2 separate regions of the Homo sapiens genome follow, and region 1 is linked to region 2. Evidence: promoter capture Hi-C in 16 types of primary human blood cells and fetal thymus (Javierre and others, 2016). All regions are on one chromosome and are shown on one strand. Each heading gives the region's core, a stretch centred on a gene start or on the middle of the fragment in contact. The rest is flanking DNA. Distances are from core to core; before and after follow the strand shown.

Evidence for each region. Contacts are between HindIII fragments. The CHiCAGO score rates a contact against its expected background, and 5 or more counts as called.
Region 1: a contact is called between a fragment that was not itself captured here and the fragment with the promoter of NCK2 in region 2, in 4 of 17 cell types (fetal thymus, total B cells, M1 macrophages and 1 more). The highest score is 7.6, in fetal thymus.

What each region holds. Positions count from the first base shown.
Region 1 is chr2:106,535,328-106,541,080 of GRCh38, forward strand. It overlaps a transcript of CD8B2 not described here. Among named protein-coding and RNA genes, the nearest start is that of CD8B2, 51 kb to the left of the region's middle. The HindIII fragment of the contact is 1,663 bases long and covers 2,823-4,485 here.
Region 2 is chr2:105,743,536-105,748,768 of GRCh38, forward strand. NCK2 (NCK adaptor protein 2) reads left to right here and starts at 1,377. Exons shown (of 5, transcript NM_003581.5): 1 at 1,377-1,603. RefSeq lists silencers at 1,028-1,347, 1,538-1,597, 1,708-2,097 and enhancers at 2,468-2,537, 2,638-2,687. The HindIII fragment of the contact is 4,864 bases long and covers 1-3,014 here.

The sequences.
Region 1 (5,753 bases), core at 2,404-4,903, 790 kb after region 2:
CACATAGACCAAGGTTGTTTGCTGAGGTCCAGGGCTGCCATCACCTGAGAGAAAACATCAATATTAAAAACATAGAGTTAAGGCTAAACAGAAATAGTCTACTATGCAAAGAAGGTCCTTGTGTAGGAAATTGAAGGTGTTTGCCCATGTGATGGATGAGGCTCCTACCAGCTTTTACATACTTTTTAATCAGAACAGTAAGGCAAGTTTATAAAATAGAGAAAACATCACCCGTAATTCCATCACCGTAATACAATTTTAAAAATTCTTGTGTGTTCCTTTGTTCCCACGCTTGGGTATACATCTTACCCAGTTGCATAAAGCCCTTCTACTTTTCTCTACTCAACAGGGGAGCTGGACATTTTTCCATGTTGTTATTTGCTAGTTGTCATTCTGTAAATCCCAGCTCTAACATTCTAAAGCTTGTAAGAGATTTTATTCACCAGATTCCAGCTAATGGTTTATATATTAGTCCATTCTTGCACTGCTATAAATACCTGAGGCTGGGCAACTTATTAAAAAGAAAAAAGAGGGTTAATGGGCTGACAGTTCTGCAGGCTGTGCAGGAAGCATAGAGGCTTCTGCTCTGCTCCTGGGGAGACCTGAGGAAGTTTTCAATAATGGTGGAAGGCACGCAGGGGAGGCAGGTATGTCTTACATGGCCAGAGTAGCAAGAGAGAGAAGAGGCAGGTGCCACACACACTTTTTTTTTTTTTTTTTTTTTGAGACAGAGTTTTGCTCTTGCTGCCCAGGCTGGAGTGCAAGGGTGCAATCTCAGCTCATCACAACCTCTGCCTCCAGGGTTCAAGCGATTCTCCTGCCTCAGCCTCCTGAGTAGCTGGGATTACAGGCAAGTGCCACTGTGCCTGGCTAATTTTGTATTTTTAGTAGACAGGGTTTCTCCATGTTGGTCAGGCTGGTCTCGAACTCCTGACTTCAGGTGATCCGCCTGCCTTGGCCTCCCAAAGTGCTGGGATTACAGCCATGAACCACTGCGCCTGGCCACCACACACTTTTAAACAACTAGATCTCCTGAGAACTCTGCTACAAGAACAGCAGCAAAGGGAGAAATCCACCCTCAAAATCCAATCACCTCCCACCAGGCCCTGCCTCCAACTTTGGGGATTAAATTTGACATGACATTTGGGCAGGGACACAGACCCAAACCATTTCAGCTTAGATATAGGTTGGTGGGAGAGGTTTCCCAAAACTTACTCCTAATGGACTTTAGATTCTTACTGTGACATGACTTTGCTGTATCAAGTATATTCAGCTTTGCTGTAGAGAACAATGAATAGATGAAAAGGGTGAAACTGAGAAGCATATTAAGCACAGAGGGTAGGCGAGCTGCCAGCTCATGAGGTGCAGGTGCATCTCAAAGGGTGTGTTACGGTAAGGAAATGAGTGAGAAGTGGCTTGTGAAGTAAGGGCAGATTCATCAATGTGTTCAATGGTGAGTTAATTATGGGTGTGATGTGTTGAAGACAGAAGTCTTACATGGAATATATGATGGCGCAAATAGTGTTACTGATCATGCCCTCACTGGACTGACAGCTCTGTTACCCCTGCATCAGCCCAGAGCATGCCAATCAAACTGTGGCTGTCCAGCAGGCTAACTGGCGACCTGCAGCTATAGCCAGTGCAGTACGTCTCTCAGAAGAACAAGTTGCTGTGTTTCTCCAATAGGACACATCTGTGCTGTTGGCTCTAGGTGCCCTTTGTCTGTGAGGCCCTGATCCAACTCCAAATCTGGTCTTCGTCACCACCCCATCAGCAGGGAAAACCGATGTGGGAGAGGAAGACAGGACATGTGAATATGGTGCTAACCAGGCCTCATGCTCTGGGCTTCCCCCCAAATGCTGCCCTGCTATTAACCTGCCCCGTCTCTCACCCCTCACTTCCCTATGTGTGTTTTAAACACATTTAATAAACCATGGGCTCATCACAAGGTCATCAGATGATGTCATACCCTGGAGACAACTTTCATTTCCCTAAACTTGCACTTCCCTAGTAGTCCTAGTGAAGCTCTTCAGTTTCAGAGTTTACATTTCCTTGTATGACCACAAGCTTGAACTTCCACTGAGGAGGCAGAAAATTATGGTTCAACGCCACCAAGACACGACATCTTAAAAACAGCTTATCTTACTTAATTTTAAGTACAGTATGCACAGAAATCCCCAAATGAGGTTAAGAGAGGTGTGTGGCACACTTGCACAGATTTCTCATTTGAATCCACATATGCTTAAAATCTCTTTTTACTTGGTGTAGAGCTTGGTTCTATAAGTGCCCTTCAGCTCTCTAAACACCAGATTGTAGCTCCTTGTGGAATGCCCGAGGAAGCGACAAGGAATGAAAAGAAGAGCATGGCTGTTCTTACTGAAGTGGCGGTCGATTTCTAAAAGCCCTTGCAGAGGATTTCTGTTGTTGCCACCTCTAATTAGTACTGCTGGGATTAAACTTAATAGGTTCTGAAGATAAAGTTAGCACGAAGGAAAAACAAACACACTGACAAAGCACATTCAGAATCAGCCGTGGGACAGCCGTCACGCCTGCTTGTTGCTAAGCTAGCTTCAGGCACCTCGCTTTGGAAATTAGCAGGGTAATGAATGTAAAATAAATGAGAAGTCTCTGTGAGGCTCCTTTTCTGACCTGCGCTGAGAGCTGGTGGATGCATGGCCCCAGAGGAGTCTCAAATGCTCAGTGATTGCGGAGGCCTGCGGACCTTCAGTGCTCAAAGTGTTTGCACGCATCTGGGTGTGCCCAGACAAAGCTGCTGGTCTAGGGAAGCGTAAGTCATCAGCTTGACTACCAAAGACCTTGCAAGCTTCCTCATGGTGGCACAAAACTAGCCAATATGACTCAATTCCCAAATAACACTTGCCAGTGATTTGAGAAACGGGAAAATACGGTATAGGCAGGGTGGTCAACTCAGGGGCTGAGGAAGGTTTAGGCTGTGAAGGGGAATTTTGAGATGGAGCCTTCAGCCTATGTAGGCTATGTATACATGAAGAATATTCATCTTGTTGCTTTTTGCTTGAAACGGTACACAAATGGCCTGCTTTTCTCTTTACTTGTTCTTAAAATTGATCAGAAGTAGCTTTCTTGGCTTGTTTCATAAGATCTTAGGACTTGAGCATCTACTATTAGCAGTGATTAAAATTTCCCCATGTTGTAATAAGGGTGACTGTGAATCTGTGTGGCACTTGAGATCTCACAAAGTGCATTTACCTTGGAAAATTCACCTTTGCGCTATCTAGAGCCGAGCAGTGTCCTGAGTAGGAATTCCTGTCTGTAACACCCTTCCCCACCTCCTACTCCCCAGATGTTCACCTGCATGTCACTATCTCTGGTAATAGCTGGCTTCCGTGTGTCCAGGCACTCCTGGGTCTTGGCCACATATTTTCAAAGGTCTGGCTCTTGGCATCTGTGCTGAGCTTGGACCCCTCCCTCTTCATATTATGCTCTCCACCCACCCACCCTTCCACACTGCCTCAAGGCTTCCCCTGGGGGCCTTCCTTGCCCTTCCTCATCAGGCCGGGCACTGCCATCTGAAACAGTCTCATATGCAGTGTGTCCCCCTCCCAGAGCTTGTGCACGGTGTGACTGTTTATCTGTGTGACTGCATGTGTGTGATCAGTAGCTCATGAACTAGTGACACATGAGGACTTCAGAGCCGGGTTCTTGCAGCTGGTGTGTGCTGGCTGAACTTCTGACTCTACCTGGTCACAGCGCAAGTGAACACGTGTTCACTTACACACCTTGGCCTCACTCATTTCAGGGCCAGGGCAGTGCCTGCCCCATGGAGTTGCTGTGTTGATGAGTGAGGCACATGAAGCACTTAGCAGAGTGCCTGGTGCCCCCACAGCACTCGGGGCCCATGTGTGGGTCTCACCTGTGTGCTGAGACCTCCTGTGTCTCTTCACCACTGTGTCTCCAGCAGGTATCACAGCACCTAGCACAGGGCAAGCTCCTTATAAATTTGTGAAATAAATGGATGAATAAGTGAGTTCAAGGGGAAATATATATATTGGTCCCAAAAGGCAAACATATTTATATTTCTAAAATTTAGAGAACTACTTTATGGAATTGAAGTAAAGATGTTTCTTGTTTCCACGCCAAAACATGGAAAGTTGATGTACTTGGGACACAATACCATGTGTGCGGTGTGCTCATCTTTTATTCTGAAGACAAATAAGGGGTCTTACTGTGGAATTAGGGGGCCACACGGGGCTGCAGCTTCTGGGCATCATTGCTCTTTGCTGCTTAATTCCAGCTTACAGGATGTTTCACACAAACACCAAAAACATTTTTAAGATGGACCATATCATATTTATCATTGTCTCTACAGTGTTTGGCTTCAATGCATCAAACTTCAAAATATGTGTTTGCTTGAATTCCAATTTCTTGACGGATACACGGCTTGGAAACCAAGCCTCCTTTGGCTGATAAAATAAGAACAGAATCTGACACTTAAAAAATTATTTAAGCTTTGCCAAGTGGGAAAAAAAAGTGTATTCTCCTACTGCTGAGCATCTTGGCTAACTTAATCACTGTTCCCGTCACTGAATCTCCCTTTTTTGTCATGGGACTTCCTGATCGTTAAATCTATTTCATAGTAAACATAAGTGAATTTTGGTTTATTGTTATTCTTGTTTACATTGAGAATTAATTTTGAGTGGAAATTATATACTTCATGTTATGTAGATGAAGTTAGGGTGGATGTTATATTCCAATAATTTTATGGCTTGAAAGAAATTCAATTTTGTTATGTGGAATGATTTCCTAAGAATGAAAAAAGAAAATGACAGCTTCAATGATCAAAGAAAGAATCATGCAGAGAATCGTTTATGTAGACCTCTCAAATTAAAAAAAATATCCAAGTATTACTGTTTCTTAATTATGTGGTCTCAAGATGAGTGTTGGAATAATTATGTTATTAGAAACTCAGCCTTTGTGAGAAATTCGTATTTTCATTATTTTATTTAAAAAGCTTTTCAACATTTCTTACTGCAAAGAAATGACAATTAGCCCTAGGAGACCAGCCCACCAAAGGCGCATTAATGTCAATCTCAAAACAGATAAAAATAGGACCAAGAATGAAGTCAACTGGCAGTACCACTCCCTCATTTAGCAAGTCGGCTTGTTGTTCTGGGTGAGCCAAGCAGGCAAACCCCCTGCTTTCAGGACTTTCACAGTCTTGAGGGGGAAAAAGTAAATCAAGCAAATAATCATCCAAATACTCCTTTTTTTTTTTTGAGATGGAGTCTTGTTCTGTCACCCAGGCTAGAGTGCAGTGACGCAATCTCAGCTCACTGCAACCTCTGCCTCCTGGGTTCCAGTGATTCTCCTGCCTCAGCCTCCTGAGTAGTTGGGATTACAGGCGCCTACCACCACGCCAGGCTAATTTTTCTATTTTTTGTAGAGATGGGGTTTCACCATCTTGGCCAGGCTGGTATCGAACTCCTGACCTTGTGAACCACCTGCCTCGGCCTCCCAAAGTGCTGGGATTACAGGCGCAAGCCACTGTGCCCGGCCCCAAATACTCTTATAACTACCTTTTGCAGTAAGTATTCAAAGTGACAACTAGCGGGTGTCTTGAAGGCATATCAGGGGAGCTTCATTCGGCTGGGGGAGTGGAGACAGCCTTTTGGGGAAAATGACCTTTAAGAGACTCAATGGTCCACAGGAGCCCAGCAGGAGGAGAGGGAATGAAGAGTTTTGCAGAGAGCTGGATGTGCAAGGGCCCTGTGGTG
Region 2 (5,233 bases), core at 127-2,626:
CCTGATTCCTGCTCAGTGTACTGTGCTTCCTTCCACTTACTGAGCTATTGAGGGCTACCTACTGCCAGGGTACTTCACATAGGAGGTAAGTAAATATTATCTCCCCATATGACAGATTTTAGAAAGGCTGAGGACCACCTGTGCAACGTTACACAGTTCAGGAAGTCAACAGTCAAACACTCACCTGTCTGACTTCAAAGCTACGCTGACTCTAGTTACCTATCCTTGGGTACTTCCCTTCTGGAAGGAAGCAGGAGATGAGTGAATCAAATAATACAGCCTTGTAACCTTGGGTAAATTATTATTGCCTTAATAGTAAGCAGAGACCAGGAGCCTAAGAAAGAATCTCATTAACATGGATGCAGGCTATCCTGCCAGGAAATCAGAATCATTTGAATATTAGGATTTCCTTTGGGAAACCATATGGGGAGGAGAAAAGACATCCGGATGCATGTGTCTGTGAAAGGGAAACTTGTGTCTTTCCCCTTGCTCTTGGGTTTTCATCTTCCAAGTTTGTTTATAGGCTAGCCACAACTCGAGGCTGGGTGAGCTGAACGGTCCCATCATTAGCGACACTCCTTCTAGGGGCACATTCGGGCAGCTCCTCTTCGGGTTCTGCCCCCACGGGTGTGCAACCAGGATTCCACAGGCTGGGGCTGGCCTGGATGCCTGGGAGGCAACAGAGGTCGAGTTTCTTCTTCTTTTAGGAAGTGCCTCGGACAGGGATGATGGACTAAAAATGTGTCTGGTTGGGAAAGTAAATAGATGCAAAGCAAATAAATAAAAATGCCCACAAGCAATTACAGGGAGGAAGTGACATTTTTATTTAAGTCACTTTTCTGATGGACAACAGGCCTGCTTAGCTGAGTGCCGTGGGAATGCTTCCGGGAGGGGGGCGGCTGCCCAGCAACTAGAGCTTCGTGATAAGAACAACGAACAAACAAAAAAGAGGACGCAAAGCCCACCCGGCAGTCATCCCAGGCTGGAAGTTGCCGTCTGTGTTTTCACTCTCCTCCCCACCCACCTACCCTGCCCCCCACCGCCCGCACGCAATTTCGGGCGTGGGGACCCTTTCCTGCCCCCGGCGCCCGGCCCGTGCTGCGCCTCCAGAGCGGAGCGTCCCGCAGCCCCGCGCTATCCCGGCGCCCGTACCGGGACCCGGGCGCGGAGCCTGGCGACGACGGGGGGCGCCCCAGGTGGGTCTCGGGTCCCCGCCCCGCGCGCCCGGGCCTGGGCCGGCCCCTGGGCGGCGTCACGGCGCGGCCGGGGAGGAGCGCGGGAGGAGGAGGAAGAGCGCGGAGGAGGCGGGCGCTGCGCGCCGGGGGAGGGTCGCCGCCGCCGCCGCCGCCGCCGCCGCCGCTGCCGCGGGGATCGTCAGGCCGGAGCCGCGCGGCCGAGCGGGCGGCGGGCGGAGGGGAGGGCTTGGCGGCCGGGAGGCTCGCGGCGCCCGGGCCGGCAGGGTCCGCCCGGGCCGGCAGCGTCCGCCCGGCGGCGGGAGGAGGGAGCGGCGCAGACAAAGAGCGGCGCCTGGGCGGGCGCAGCGCGGCCACCGCCCCGGGACCCGCGCCGCTGCCCTCCGGCTCCGCGGGCGGCCCACGGCGAGGTAAGCGCGGCTAGGCGGGCGTGGGGCGGGGGCCACAAACTTGGGGCCGTTGGGCGGAGTTGGGAGCGCGGCGGGGCTCGCGGGCCGGGGTGCGCCCGGGAAGGGGCCAGGAGAGCGGGTCCCCTCCGCGCCCCTCCGGTGCTCTCGGCCCTGCCGCGGCCTGGGCGCCCCCGACCGCGGACTGCCGGGCACCTCCCGGCTCTGCACCTTCCTGCCCGCCTTCCCATCCCTAACCCCCACCATCGGGGGCCGGCCCAGGGGCGGGGACGCCAGCCAAGGGCGCGGGCGAGGATCAGGGCAGGGGGCCCGGCTGCGGGGCCCGGGGACTGGAGACCCCCGGGTGCGCAGGCTGCGCCTGGCCTGCAGGCGGGCGGCCGGCACGGAGCTCGGGGCTAGCGTGGGACCGTGCGGTGGCCAGGGTCGCCAGGGCGCGTGTGCCGGGGAAGAATAGCCGCGGATCGCAGGGCCCCGGCGCAGGGACGGGGGAGGCCGCGATCGGCCGGGAGAACTTAACCGTGTTTATTACAACTATTTATGTTCGCGCACAAAGCTGCTGTCACATTGCATAAAGGAGGTCCTCGCTTCGGCGAAGGGAGCTTTTGTGCCCGGCTTCAGGCTCTGCGCCCTGCCCCAGATTTACAGGACTCTAACAGCCACCTGAATGAACCAAAGTTTCTCACAATCGCTCGGCTCTCTCGGTTTTTTTCAGGGCGATTTAATCACCGAGTGCTTTTGGAAAAATTTGATATGTGAGTTTTAAGGCATGGAGGGTAACTGCCTTATGAGCACAGTTAGCTTGGCATTGTGTGGAGGGGTTTAATTTGCAAAACGCTTTAATTTGTAGACAATGGGGATCTCTGTGAAGGTCTGCGGTGGATGCTAGGGGTCATTGGCTGGTGGACCCCAGGCACCTGACTTAAACTAGTATTGTAACAGCTTCAGGGACAAAGCCGAGCGTGCGTGGAGTCGGCCTTGGCCACTTCACACAATTCAGGTTGGCAGATTCCTCTTTATTTGGCTTTGTTTATTTTGCCAACAGGTTTAAGGCTGCTTCTGCCAAGTTTGCATCTGCATAATGGGATGAGCAGGCCCCAGTGTGGGCAGGAGGGGGCCTAAAATATCGCAAGGGCCAGCTCCGTCCCTCGACCCAGAAAGAAACAACCCTGAGAGGCCGGTGGGCGTGGCTTGCTGGGACCTACAGGTAGGGGAGTCCCTTCCTGGCCCAGGCGCAGTCCCCGCTTCTCGGAAGGGATTTTGTGTAGGAATGAAAGTGATTCAGGGTGTTTTTCATGCCTCTGTTTTAGATGTAGTTATCAAGTCTCAAAAGTGACTGAAAATGAAATTAACCTGGGCCGCTTTAACTTACCAAAACGGAACTGTGCGTGTGAACACTCCCTCAATTCACTTTGCAAGCTTCATAGATAAGCAGGTGAATTAGTAACAGGATTCAAGCCTTGCGAGTTTTACGTAAAGAGAATGGCAGTCATCGGACACGTGGAGAAGAAATTGACTTCACCTGGAGATTGGGCTAGACATGGAGGTTTTTTGACGTTTGGAACAGGGGTTTCCTGAGAAGCAAGTGTTAACCTGCTTGTGAAGAAGTGAACACGAGGGAAAATCCTACCTCAGTATATTCTGCCCTGGAGGTTGGTTAGATGTAGTTTTGATTGGAGAAGGTGGCGGAATCTTAGTGGTCTTCTGGCGGCTACTTGAGGCTGAAATGGAGAACTTTAGGCATAGGAAGCTGTGGAGGTGCCTGGCCCACTTCCTGTCCCGGAGGCCTCGCCTGGATTCTGAGCTTCTTTCCTGCTTCATAAACATTCAGGGGGGTTGGTCATGAAACACTGGATGAAATTGGGTCACAAATTGCCATCAGGAAGAGTTGGCTGCTGCATAACCCCCTCTGTCCACTTGTGGAGAAACTGACCCTGTTAACCGTCGGGCTTGCTGAAGGTGCCTTGCAGGTGGCTGTGCTCAGTTTTCATGCTTTGTGTTTTGCTTAGGACACGCTGCATACTTAAATCTTCTTCATCCTTGCTCTGTTTGACCCTGCCATATTCCCAGGCTTTGTCATTTACATTTTCGGTTATTTAGCTTTTCCAACAAACAGCAGATCTTATGTACACAGTACTATATTTGAGAAATGCACTACCATCCATATTAAATACACCGGAAATCTTCCTTGCATGTGCACAGACTGGATAACCTTTTAAAATACCCTAAGACTCCCGGAATGGCGCAGAATGCACTGGAGTCCTTTACTTGATCAGTTGCACTAGCTTAGTTTGCCCTGGATAGACCAGGCTGCGAGGCTCTATGGGACACCCATTTTTCTAACTGCTCAAACTGGCTTGCCGTGTGCACTGGGGGAGACAGGGCTTGCGGAAATCATTCTCTGACATTAAAAATGAGGCTTAAAGACTGAAGAGCTCAGAATTGCTTGCTGGAACTACAGGGGAGGATGATGAGTGATGTTTGGAAAAACAAGTAAGCTAACTTTTTTCACAAATGAACTGGAAACTCCCTACAGCTCACTTCAGATGCTTAGGAAATTAGTTTTCCCATCCAGAGGGTTTGCGAGTGGCACTTCCAAATGGTTTCTGTTTCCTAAAATGAGTGATGGAAATACTTCACGGCACGTTTTCAAAGGGCCTAAGCTAAAATGTGATTTCGTGTATCTTGTTCCATGCCTGAGTTAAGGCAACTCAGAAGAAGGTCGTGACGGCCTTTTAACGGGCTATCAAAAGTGTGCAGCTAAAGCAAAAACAGTTTTGCATTTCTTTAGGCCATTTAGTAGCACAATTAAAAAATTAGACTCTTTTCTTTTCCTGCATTTTCCTTTGAACATTTCCCAAAGTATGTTTATTTCTAAAGGTAAATGAACGTTAGCAAGTATTACCTCTGCCCAGTGACACACATCCACATGTGTACTGGCACATACATTCCTACCTCAAGAATCTTAGTCCTTGAAACTGTGGAAATGAAAGTTATTTTGATTGAGGTAGCAGTGTCACAGTGATGTCATACGGTGTCACTGTCCCTGACCAGCCTCTGTGTTCCCTCTCAACTCCTTGGCTCAGTCTCCTCCGTGTCCTGAGTTCTTACTCATCCCAAGGGTCGTCTCTTACTTCTTTTCTTCCCCACATCTTATCAACTCCAAACTAGAGGGGATGGCATCATCTTTAAACTTCCACAGCACTTTCTTTGTGTCCCTGATTTGTCATCTGTGACATTCTTTCCTGCAGTTGTTTTTTTTCTTTTTTTAAGGCAGGGTTTCACCCTGTCACCCAGGCTGGAGTACAGTAGCATGATCACAGCTCACTGCATCCTCGAGCTTCTGGGTTCAGGCAATCTTCCCACCTCAGGCAATCTTCCCACCTCAGCCTCCGAGTAGCTGGGACTACGGGTGTGCACCACCATGCTCAGTGAATTTTTTTATTTTTATTTTTATTTTTATTTTGTAGAGACAGGGTCTTGCTGCTTTGCCAAGGCTGGTCTCAAACTCCTGGGCTCAAGTGAGCCTCCTGCCTTGACCTCCAAAAGTACTGGGATTACAGGCCAGAGCCACCATACCCTGCCCTATGGTTTTTTTGCCTTCATCTTTTCTTTACTAGATTCTGAACCGCTTGG